3 separate regions of the Homo sapiens genome follow, and all the other regions are linked to region 3. Evidence: promoter capture Hi-C in 16 types of primary human blood cells and fetal thymus (Javierre and others, 2016). All regions are on one chromosome and are shown on one strand. The core of a region is centred on a gene start or on the middle of the fragment in contact, and the rest is flanking DNA. Distances in the headings are between cores, read along the strand shown.

Region 1 (3,815 bases), core at 585-3,084, 120 kb after region 3:
ACCTAGCACATAGGGATGTTCTAAAGATTAAATAAAATAACATGTAAACTATGCAGAACCAAATAAAGCTTAGTTCCTTGTCTCTTTCCTTCTCTTCTAAGTTGAGATTAGGATGTTTTGTTTGTTTCTTGAATAAGATCTGAGTCCCTTGTCTTCTCCAGATGACTATGCTGGACCTAGTCAAGAGACTAAGATGTTAATATGTATTTATGATTATGTACATATAATCAGTTAATTACTTACATTCTTGAGACATCCATCTGAAGTTATTGACAAATACCGATTTCTCTCAAGTCTATGAGGTTCTAAGATGTTGTATAGTCACAGTCTAAGGCTGGGAGACCCGAGAGACCATGGAAGATGTTTGCAGAGTTTTCTTCTGAAACTTCATTCGCTCAGTCTGGACGTGTAAAAGAATAACGGTCCAGCCATAGGCTCTGAAATCCCAAGACACAGACTTGAAAAAATACATATTTTTTTTTTGTGCGTAACTTTCTTTTTTAAAATCACCACCTCCCTGTTCTGTGCAGATTTCTCTTACTTAGTACTGTGGAAATTTCTGAAAGCATCTTCCACTGAAACCATTGCTATGGCCAGCGTTGGGTTTCTAGAACTGGAAGAAACACACATTTTGAAAATATTAGTCAGTACTATTTCAGTCTTCAGTGACAGGAATTTTGGTTAAACATGCGTAGGCTTAGAATGTACTGGCTCTAGCCATGAGTGGATCAGGAGCTTAACTGCTGTCACCAGGGATCATGCACCTTTCATCTCTTAGTTTTGGTTTCTGTTGTGCTAGCTTCATTCTCAAACAGGCTTTGCCATGTGGAGCATCCCCAGATTAAAATCCTACCCATTCAGCAGAGAAAAGGTACTGTTTCTCCAATTTCTAGGTTAAGTCTAGGAATTATTGTCCTCCCTAATACCCCAAGAAAACCCATGTACTAGAAGGAGGCAGTGTTCTCATTGGCCAGATCTGGTTCACATGCTCACCTCTGGAACTGTTCAGTTGAGTCAGCCCCATTTGAATGACCTGTGTAAATTGAGGGTGAGGGAGGTGTGTATGTTCAAGAAAAATTAGCATGCAGTTACCAGAAGGGGGGAAGGAAAGCTAGGCACATTAAAACCAAGAACTGTTTATGTATAGCATATAAGGGATTGGAAAACCTGGAAGCCTAGGGGTGACTCAGGGAGGCTGGGAGACAGAGATGGCAAGAGATTCTGTGCCTCCAAGTCAACACTGCTGTATTTGGTAGCTTTCTAGAACATTCCAGTGCAGCTGTCATACTATCTGCAAAAATACCTTAAGTGAAATGACAAAAAATAACCAAAATTAGGACCCCTGAAGAAGAAATGTATCCTCACCTCATTTTTTCTTCAGAAAAATTTTTTCTCTCAGTCTTCTTTCTAGTCTTTTTCTTATGGTGGTCTTCCTCTCCCCATCTTCTTTTCTGTCCTTACCCTACCCCTCCCATCCCATGGCTCATTATTTTCAGCAGATCTGTTCAACACAGATTGCTATTGATTGTCCTACAAAGAGCCAGGTACTGTGCAAGGTGCTAGAGGTATGAGGATGAATAAGGTATCCCTGTTTTTAAAGGACTCATAGCCTAGAGCTGCTTAAATTACACATCCCTACATTAATACTTTTTTAAAAAAATAGAACATTCTGTATAAAGCTGAAGGCTTGAAGTCCTTCCTGAGCTCTACCCCAAAAGCCAATACTTCTGAAGGCTTGAAGTCCTTCCTGAGCTCTACCCCAAAAGCCAATAATTCCCTGCCACCTAAGAGGTAACCACTGTTCTTGGTCGTGTTTCTTTCTGATCTTTCCCCATACATTTACACAGAAAATATGGGGTTTTGGCCGGGCGCGATGGCCTGTAATCCTAGCACTTTGGGAGGCCGAGGCGGCTGGATCACCTGAGGTTAGGAGTTCAAGACCAGCCTGGCCCACATGGTGAAACCCCATCTCTACTAAAATACAAAAATTAGCCAGGCATGATGGCGGATGCCTGTAATCTCAACTGCTCGGGAGGCTGAGATGGGAGAATCGCTTGAACCTGGGAGATGGTGGTTGCAGTGAGCTGAGATCACACCACTCCACTCCAGCCTGGGTGGCTGAGTGAGACTCCGTCTCAACAACAACAACAACAACAACAAAAAAAGAAAATATGGGGTTTTGTGGTTTTAAAAAACATAAATAATAATAGCTAATGCTTACTGTGTCACTGTTATGTATCAGGCACTATTTTAAGTATTTTATATAAATCATCATATTTAATCCTCAGAACAACTCTATAAGGTAGGAACGATTAGTATTCCCATTTTACAGATGAGGAAACTAAGCCCCAGAAAGGTTAAGTAGCTTGTTCAAGGATATACAGTAAACGGAGGAGCTTTGCTTTATATATTTTAATACAATTCGCCTTTTTTACTTAATATTATTTGGAGATACAGGTATGTTAGTGTGTAAAGAATTGTTTCATTATTTTTCTGTAGCCCTTTAAATAACTTTGTTATGAAAAATTTCAAACATATACAAATCTAGAGAAAATAGAATAATGATGGATACCATGGATGACTAGAGGGAGAAAGGAAGGAGGGGAACAGGGTGGAAAAACTATTGGGAACTATGCAAACTCTCTGGCTGATGGGATCATTTGTACCCCAAACCTCAGCATCACACAGTATTCCCTTGTAACAAACCCACACATGTACCCTCTTAATCTAAAATATGAATTGAGGCTCATGCCTGTAATCCCAGCACTTTCGAAGGCTGAGGTGGGTGGCTCACTTGAGGTCAGGAGTTCGAGGCCAGCCTGGCCAACATGGTAAAACCCCGCCTCTACTAAAAATACAAAAATTAGCGTGGTGGTGCATGCCTGTAATCCCAGCTACTAGGGAGACTGAGGCAGGAGAATCACTTGAACCTGGGAGGTGGAGGTTGCAGTGAGCCAAGGTCACGCCACTGCACTCCAGCCTGGGTGACAGAGGGAGACTCCATCTCAAAAAAATAAAATATGATTTGAAATTATTTTTTAAAAAGTTTGTTGTAATTCTAACTGAATTAATAAACTTTAAAATTCATACAAAAAAAGAGAAAATGGTATAATGAATCACCATATATCTGTCATTCCAGTGTCACCAATTATCATGGCTAACCTTGCTTCATCTGTATTACAGCCACAGTGGCTTATTTTGAAGCAGTTCTCAGACATCATCTTGCAGTATCCATAAATAGTTCAGTATGTAGCTCCTAAAGATAAACACTCTGAAAAACTAACCAAATCATAACACCATTATCACACCTAAAAAAAGTCTTATCATCAATTTCTTTTGAGTGTCGAAGTTCTCTGATTGTTTCATATATTTTTAAGTAGCTTTGTTAAAAAGCAGGATCCAAGCTAGATTCATACATTGCATTTGGTTGATCTGTTTCTTAGATCTTTTAATACTTTCTGCACCCTGCTATGTTAAAGGTCCTTATTTCTCTTTGGTAAAAATCTTGGTATTTAATCAAGGCTTATCAACATTAAGGCATTCCATCCCCCTAGGAGCAGCACCTTGATTGTCAAAGCGACATGATTTGCCCAAGCTTATACATATATATGCTTCTTGTATGTTCCCATGGTTACTTAGACTAAGAGACTAAAGTATTTATTTAAGGAATGATGCAAATTAATTATTCAACTTAATCTGCCTTGGGAAGCATTCTAGTTCCAGTTATTGGGTTCTTTGGGTCATTATTTTATTTCCAAGGTTTTTGGTTATTTTGAGTGGAAAATTGTTTTGGTAGATCTTCTTTATTATGGTAG
Region 2 (3,694 bases), core at 78-2,577, 82 kb after region 3:
GTATGTTGCCCAGGCTGGTCCCAAACTCCTGGCCTCAAGCAATCCTCTCAGCTTGGCCTCCCGGAATGCTAGGATAATAGGTGTGAGCCACCATGTCCATCCTCACATTTTTTTTTTTTAATGTTACAGAATAGATGTTTTGGTACAGTTTACCTAAAAGATAAAAGAATGACTTATTTTGGAAAGGTAATGTGAAAATTACCCAAAAGGAAAAAAATTCTCTTTTTTTTTGTAGGGATTTCTTTCCTTTTTTAACTTATATTTTACTTTGTTCTAAAGAGAATTTAAGAAAGCAACTATTACAATCATGGAATAAAATTTCTATGAAAGGAATATGCTATCCTCATATATATATGGAAGAGACAACATATCTTGTGGGAAGTTTACTGCCCTACTAGTCCCAGTTCTACTACTTCATGCTTGTTCAACCTTGTTGCATCTATTAAGTGGAGATAATAGTACTGCCCAGTCACCACACTGGGTTGCTGTAAAAACTAAACGGAATAATATTTGTGAACGACCTTTGTAAACTCTAAAACTCTATGCAGGTATGAAGTGGTATTACTATGATAACATTTATTCTAGTAAGGGAGATTTGGAAAAGGCATTTTCTTCAGAGAAAAGGGCCATATTACACTATTAGGTATGAACTGGCAACCATGTGTTGGTACAGGCTCAAGTTCATATGGACTGATAAACTTCACTATCTTGCTTTGAAACCTCCAGAATGGATTAAAATTTGGCACAAAAAAATATGGTCATCGGGCCGGGCGCAGTGGCTCATGCCTGTAATCCCAGCACTTTGGGAGGCCGAGGCAGGCAGATCACGAGGTTAGGAGATCGACAGCATCCTGGCTAACACGGTGAAACCCCGTCTCTACTAAAAACACAAAAAATTAGCCAGGCGTGGTGGCGGGCGCCTGTAGTCCCAGCTACTTGGGAGGCTGAGGCAGGAGAATGGCATGCACCCAGGAGGCGGAGCTTGCAGTGAGCCGAGATCATGCCACTGTACTCCAGCCTGGGAGACAGACTCCGTCTCAAAATATATATATATATATATGGTCATCAGAAAATTGATGCAGGAAATCAATTTTAAGAAAAATGCATGTATGTAATGTGTCTTCATTTCAAAATGCATACCTTTACACAGACAAATAACAGTAGTTAGTTAGCTCATTTTTTTAGCTCGTAGTGCTAATGAGCATAAAGTTATGAGTCTCAGTTCCCAGAGCAATTATCCAGAAACCATTATCCAGCTAGATGACTTCCAAATGGGATACAAGAAAGAAAATAGGCTGGGCGCGGTGGCTCACGTCTGTGATCCCAGCACTTTGGGAGGCCGAGGCAGGCAAATCACATGAAGTCAGGAGTTCGAGACCAGCCTGGCCAACATGGTGAAACTCCATCTCTACTGAAAATACAAAAATTAACCGGGTGTGGTGGCATACACCCGTAATTCCAGCTACTCAGGAGGCTGAGGCAGGAGAATTGCTTGAGCCCGGGAGACGGAGGTTGCAGTGAGCCGAGATCCCGCCATTGCACTCCAGCCTGGGCGACAGAGCGAGTCTGTCTCAAGAAAAAAAAAAAAAGGAAAGAAAGAAAATAAAAATGGACCGGCTCATGTTGAAAACTACTGTAAGAGGACCCCTATCCTAAATACACAAAAATTACCAACAGTCTTTATTTTCCAACTCTAATGTACTACCCATACGTGTATAAATTAGTAACTTTTGAGGGGCAATTTAGAAATTTTAACACATTTTTACAAATGTAACAAAATTTTCAATTTGTGTATCCTTTGAGGCAACAACAGTTCCACTTTTAAGCATTTGTACTGCAAAACTATTTCACAGAAATGCAAAGATACACTAAAACAAAGATGTTCAATGCTGTATTATTTTCACTGGCAAGTTGAAAATAGCCTAAACTACTAGCACAAGGGGCTGGCTAATATGTTCTATCTCCTATACAATAGGCTAAAAAATAAATTACAAAAAATATAATGTTATTTCATTTATATAAAAATATATTTTGATATAAACAGAAAACATCTGAAAGCATACCTCACAAACTTAACTATAGTTGCCTTTAGGGGGAATTTAGAGATGGGGATTAATGAGGTTTTTTGTTTTTGTTTTTGTTTTGGAGACAGAGTCTGCCCAGGCTGGAGTGTAGTGGCATGATCTCGGCTCACTGCAATCTCCACCTCCTAGGTTCAAGCAATTCTCCTGCCTTAGCCTCCCGAGTAGCTGGGGCTACAGTGAGCATCCGCCACCACACCCAGCTAATTTTTGTAATTTTAGGGTTTCACCATGTTGGCCAGGCTGTTCTGGAACTCCTGACCTCAAGTGATCTGCCTCCTTGGCCTCCCAAAGTGCTGGGATTATAGGCGTGAGCCACCGCGCCCAGCCTAATGAGTTTTTTTATTCTTTAATACCATTTGTCTCTTTCAATGATGATGTATTGGTTTCTTTCACAGTTAGAAACTTATCCATCTGGCTGCGCGTGGTGGCTCACACCTATAATCCCAGCACTTTGGGAGGCCAAGGTGGGCAGATCGCCTGAGGTCCGGAGTTGGAGACCAGCTTGACCAACATGGAGAAATCCCGTCTCAAAGAAAAATACAGAATTAGCCGGGTGTGGTGGTGCATGCCTGTAATCCCAGCTACTCGGGAGGCTGAGGCAGGAGAATCACTTGAACCCGGGAGGCAGAGGTTGCGGTGAGCCAAGATCACGCCATTGCACTCCAGCCTGGGTAACTAGAGCAAAATTCCGTCTCAAAAAAAAAAAAAAAAGAGAAACTTATCCATCTTTTTGGAGGTTTTTAGACATGGTTGCTAACTCCCTATCCTCTTCTCTACATTCGACGTATTATGGTACACAGACTCTAAGGGAAGCAATTTAATCAAAACTAGGAACAATTAGTTGAAAACTAATATTTTCCATTTTGCATTTTGTCATTATTTACAAGCAAAGATTGGCCAAAATAACAAGCACTATAATTATTTATACCTGTTTTCAAAATGACTGTCCAGTGATGCCTGCTTTACTTTTGGAAACTAATTTATTAGAATGGCATTAATTATGTATTTGTCTACTTTTGGTAGGTAATACAATAATAACTGTGATATTATACATTCTATCATTAAAATGCTATTTTAAGTATTATTATTATTATTTTTTTTTTTTTTGAGACGGAGTCTCACTCTGTCGCCTCTGTCCCAAAGTGCTGGGATTACAGGTGTGAGCCACCGCACCAGGCCATTGTCTTTCTTTTAATGTAAAAAAACACATAACATATAACTTACCATGTTAACTATTTTTAAGTTTATAGTTCAGTAATATTAAGAATATATTCACCTTGTTGTGAAATCTGTCATTTTAATAGGTTGGTTTTCAGTCAACTCCTTTGTAACCTATTTACCTATATCACTATGTACAGCAGGAGTTTTAACTTCCCATGATGTGGACACACAAAGTAACAAGGTTTATACCAACTGTATAATGGTGCTAGTTCAGTGTTTAGTTCATAAACCTTAAAAGAATAAAAATAAAGTTTAGTTTTATGGTAGTGTTTTCTCTAATTCTTTTTACAAATTGGAGTTTTGAGGGACTATATGAAGTCAACAAGCTAAATCAACCACTGTGCAAGTTAGTGAAAATTAAAGAGATTTTTTTCAAAAATTTTCTAGGG
Region 3 (3,601 bases), core at 582-3,081:
TTGGCTGTCTTTTCACAAGGCTACACTCTCATGCTGATGTCCATTCCTTCATGCAACCAGTCCAAAATGCTCGCTACATCACCTTCCCCATACACATCTCTCCCCTCAAATCTTCCTGTGGCCCCTTTCTCATCTCCACTAACACTGAAATACTGAAGTCTATTCGATTACCAACCTTCTTCCTCTCTAAAAATATCTTCCTCTTCACTTCTTATTTTTTATTATTTTTATTTATTTTTTTTTTCTGAGACGGAGTCTCGCTCTGTCGCCCAGGCTAGAGTGTAGTGGTATGATCTCAGCTCACTGCAACCTCCACCTCCTGGGTTAAAGCAATTTTCCTACCTCAGTCTCCCGAGTAGCTGGGATTACAGGCATGCGCCACCACGCCCAGCTAATTGTGTATATTAGTAGAGACGGGGTTTCACCATGTTGGCCAGGCTGGTCTTGAACTTCTGACCTCAAGTGAGCCACCTGCCTCGGCCTCCCAAAGTGCTGGGTTTACAGGTGTGAGCCACCGTGCCCAGGCTCTCTTCACTTTTTGTACACACTCATCCTGCACTGTCTCTGCTGAACTTTACACACTGACTTCTATGGAGTGACCACGTCATGCAGTACCGAGAAATGAGTCTTAAAAAAAAAAATTAGAGTCATGTTCAAATGAGCAATCTGCCTCTTACCATTTATGCGACCTTAGTAATGTTACTTAACCTCTCTAGCCTTACTTTTCCCTTCTGCAAAGAGAAAATAATTCCTAACTCACTGGGTTTTTGTTTTTGTTTTTGAGACAGGGTCTGGCTCTATTGCCAAGTCTGGAGTTCAGTGGTACGATCACGGCTCACTGCAGCCTCTTGACCTCCCAGGCTCAAGCGATCCTACCACCTCAACCCCCAGAATAGCTGAGACTACAGGCATGTGTCACCACGCCCGACTAATTTTTAAAATTTTTTGTAGAGACGGGGTCTCATTCATTGAGTTTTAAAAGGAAGCAAGCATATGTAAGGCGCTTAACACAGTATCGTGTACTTAAAAGGCACTTAATAAACAGTAGCTGTTACTATGAAAATAATATTTACCTCACAAAACTGTTCCTACATGCCTGACGCTTAAGTAGCTCCTCAAAATATGATAGTTTTCCTCTTCCCCCGTCCTTGGAAAAACTTTCTAGTTCTTTCCAACAAAGATTCAGCACCTAGTTCAAATCCAACAAAGATTTCCCCAATTCTGCTGCAAAGGCATTTGTATATTTACTAAAATCTCAACACTCACGCAGGATAAAACCTACTTAGAACTACCCAGACATCCTTTCTTATCTTCTTAACTTTAAGTCACTGGAAGAAAACCATCACATTTTGCAAGTCCCCAAAAAGCATGCCTGCATAAAAGCTCTAGGGAAGGGAACCGGGTGTCCAGATGCATTTCAGAATTACCATAGGTTTCCTTGCTCGGCATACAGAATAAATGTTGGTTACACTAATGATACAACCGAAGTTGGGGAAAAAAACTTCAGACAATGGCCCGCAAATCTCAAGGAGTAATTGCGAAAAGATGCCACGTGGTGACGTGTTCTAGGCGGGTGATCAGTGAACAAATTTGTATGTGTGATCCTGTGGTGTGTGAATGTGTCATCGTGTGTGCCTGCGTGTGTTCGTAAACACTGAAAGTACAGTCGTGTGCGCCGAGAAGTCTGAGCGCGGGTGCGCATCCCTTTGGACCCGGGTGCGTACCTAGTGAGCAACCGTGCGAACCCTCACGGGGCTCTCCTCCACGCGCTTACCTCTGCGGACGAGCAGGTGGACGCCACTGGGCGCCGCCATGTTGGCGTCGGTCACGTGGCCGCGAGCACTCGCTCGCCGCCCCGCCCGCTGGAGCCGGCCAGTCGCAGCCCTGCCGAAGCCCTGAGGCGTCGAGGCCGCCCGAGGGGAGCGCGCGTGCGCGCGCGGGGCTGACTGCGGGAGCCCTGGCTGGGAAGCGGCTAGGGCACCCGGGCAAGCAGCAGAACCCGCGGCCGGCTGAGTCCTCTCCAGCCGCGAGAGGCGGGCTCCAGCCGCGGCTCGCGCGCTCGCTCTGAGCCCCCGCGCCCAGGTGGGATGGAAGAAGCCTGTCAGGTAAGCGTGGCATCCAATATTTATAGCATCAACATTTTGGTGCATGGAAACGTGAAGTTGGGCGGAAAAAATAAAGCACAATCTAGTGTTCAACATAGCACTTTGTATCGTCTGCCACTCTGTTGCAAATTATTCCCCTGGATTCAGTTGAAAGGTAAAATTTGGTTCAAAGTCACCAGCTCCCCTTTTGCTGTCCCAGAATCTACATTACTCAGCAGAGACTCCAGACAACACAGGATCTGTGTGTCGCTGCAAAATCTATTCTAGGTACCCCAGTGGGTATGTTCAGGAGACTTCTCTTTCTCCAAGGACGCCTTCTGCTTGGCAGTATTAACTGGAGTCTTAATCCTAAATTTGGAGTTTAAGTATAAAAGGATGACGCCTGCCAATTGCATTGCCAAGAGAAGAAGCCTACAGAAGGCCAATTGTGAATCAGATGAGGGAGCTGATGTATGCCTACTGATGACGGTGCCCATTTTTACCAAATTCACTGTCTCTCTTACCTGTGTTCTGGGGTAGATGCCATCCTGTCATGGACCAGGTGTTATTCATCTTAGTAGCCTCCGTGCCCGGCACAGAACCCGATACCCGAGGAATGTCAGGTGAAGCAATTGAACACTGCATGAAACCAGTCAAACTGAGAATGTAACCGTTTCCAGACTTTAAATGCAGTGAAGATTGATTAGGATTCTCAGTGAATGTGTGTGATGTCTTCTAATTAATTTTTAAGCACTACACACTCAGTGAATAATCTAGACAATTCAGAACAATTCAGAAATAAGGAACAAGTGCAAGCCCCTTCCTCGCCCTCTGTACATACCATAGTCCCACTCCCCAGTTAACCACCGTGTGCTCAATTGAGATCTTTGCCTTTTACACACAGGCAAATGTAAGTATTTTAAATAGAATCATATGACTTGCTTTTTCCATTCCAGTCATCATAGGCATCAAATCTTAGAACACTTAGTTCAGACTTATTCTTTTTAATGACTATATAATCTTGATATTTTTACTTTTAAAGAGAGTGAATGTTGGCATTTCATTAGAGGACACATGCTATAATTCTGGAAAACCTGGTTTTGGATGCTTTTGGGTCACCTTGAAAGATAAAGAGAAGTAATGCTTTCCATCAGGGTAAATAAGATGCACAAGAATGAGAATAAAATGTACTCCTACCTTTTGCAAACTCATTTCAATTCCAGGGAGAGCATTTTTGAATGTGGCAAATCTGTCCTCTGTGTAACTGAGGCCAGCAATCTGAGTGCAGCAAAGGAGCCTGAGAGTTAGCTGGCCACAGAGTCTTAAGCAGTGTACAGAAAAAAGAAATCTAGACATCCCTATTCCTTAAGGCATCAAGCCTAGTTTCAAACCCATCTGAAATAGAACACATGTTCATGTGACTTAACTCAGCCAACCCTTGGAAAATAAATGAATGCTTTATTCCCCTACAACTAAAAGGAAAAGGAAACACTATGAGGACCCAGGTGGCACCAGCA

The links. Contacts are between HindIII fragments. The CHiCAGO score rates a contact against its expected background, and 5 or more counts as called.
Region 1: a fragment that was not itself captured here is called in contact with the fragment with the promoter of METAP1D in region 3 in 2 of 17 cell types (neutrophils and monocytes); the score reaches 5.3 in neutrophils.
Region 2: a contact is called between a fragment that was not itself captured here and the fragment with the promoter of METAP1D in region 3, in 2 of 17 cell types (monocytes and neutrophils). The highest score is 6.6, in monocytes.

The regions. Positions count from the first base shown.
Region 1 is chr2:171,879,493-171,883,307 of GRCh38, reverse strand. All of the region lies in intron 2 of SLC25A12 (solute carrier family 25 member 12), which reads left to right. Among named protein-coding and RNA genes, the nearest start is that of SLC25A12, 13 kb to the left of the region's middle. The HindIII fragment of the contact is 3,527 bases long and covers 71-3,597 here.
Region 2 is chr2:171,915,829-171,919,522 of GRCh38, reverse strand. It overlaps LOC105373740 (a long non-coding RNA gene), which reads left to right. Exons shown (of 3, transcript XR_923579.2): 3 at 2,480-2,574. LOC105373739 (a long non-coding RNA gene) reads left to right here and starts at 2,722. Exons shown (of 3, transcript XR_923578.1): 1 at 2,722-2,755; 2 at 3,693-3,694. The HindIII fragment of the contact is 7,608 bases long and covers 1-3,694 here.
Region 3 is chr2:171,998,183-172,001,783 of GRCh38, reverse strand. METAP1D (methionyl aminopeptidase type 1D, mitochondrial) reads right to left here and starts at 1,831. Exons shown (of 10, transcript NM_199227.3): 1 at 1,775-1,831. The coding sequence starts at 1,814. LOC124905590 (a long non-coding RNA gene) reads left to right here and starts at 1,875. Exons shown (of 3, transcript XR_007087296.1): 1 at 1,875-2,105. RefSeq lists a silencer at 1,837-2,136. The HindIII fragment of the contact is 8,153 bases long and covers 1-3,601 here.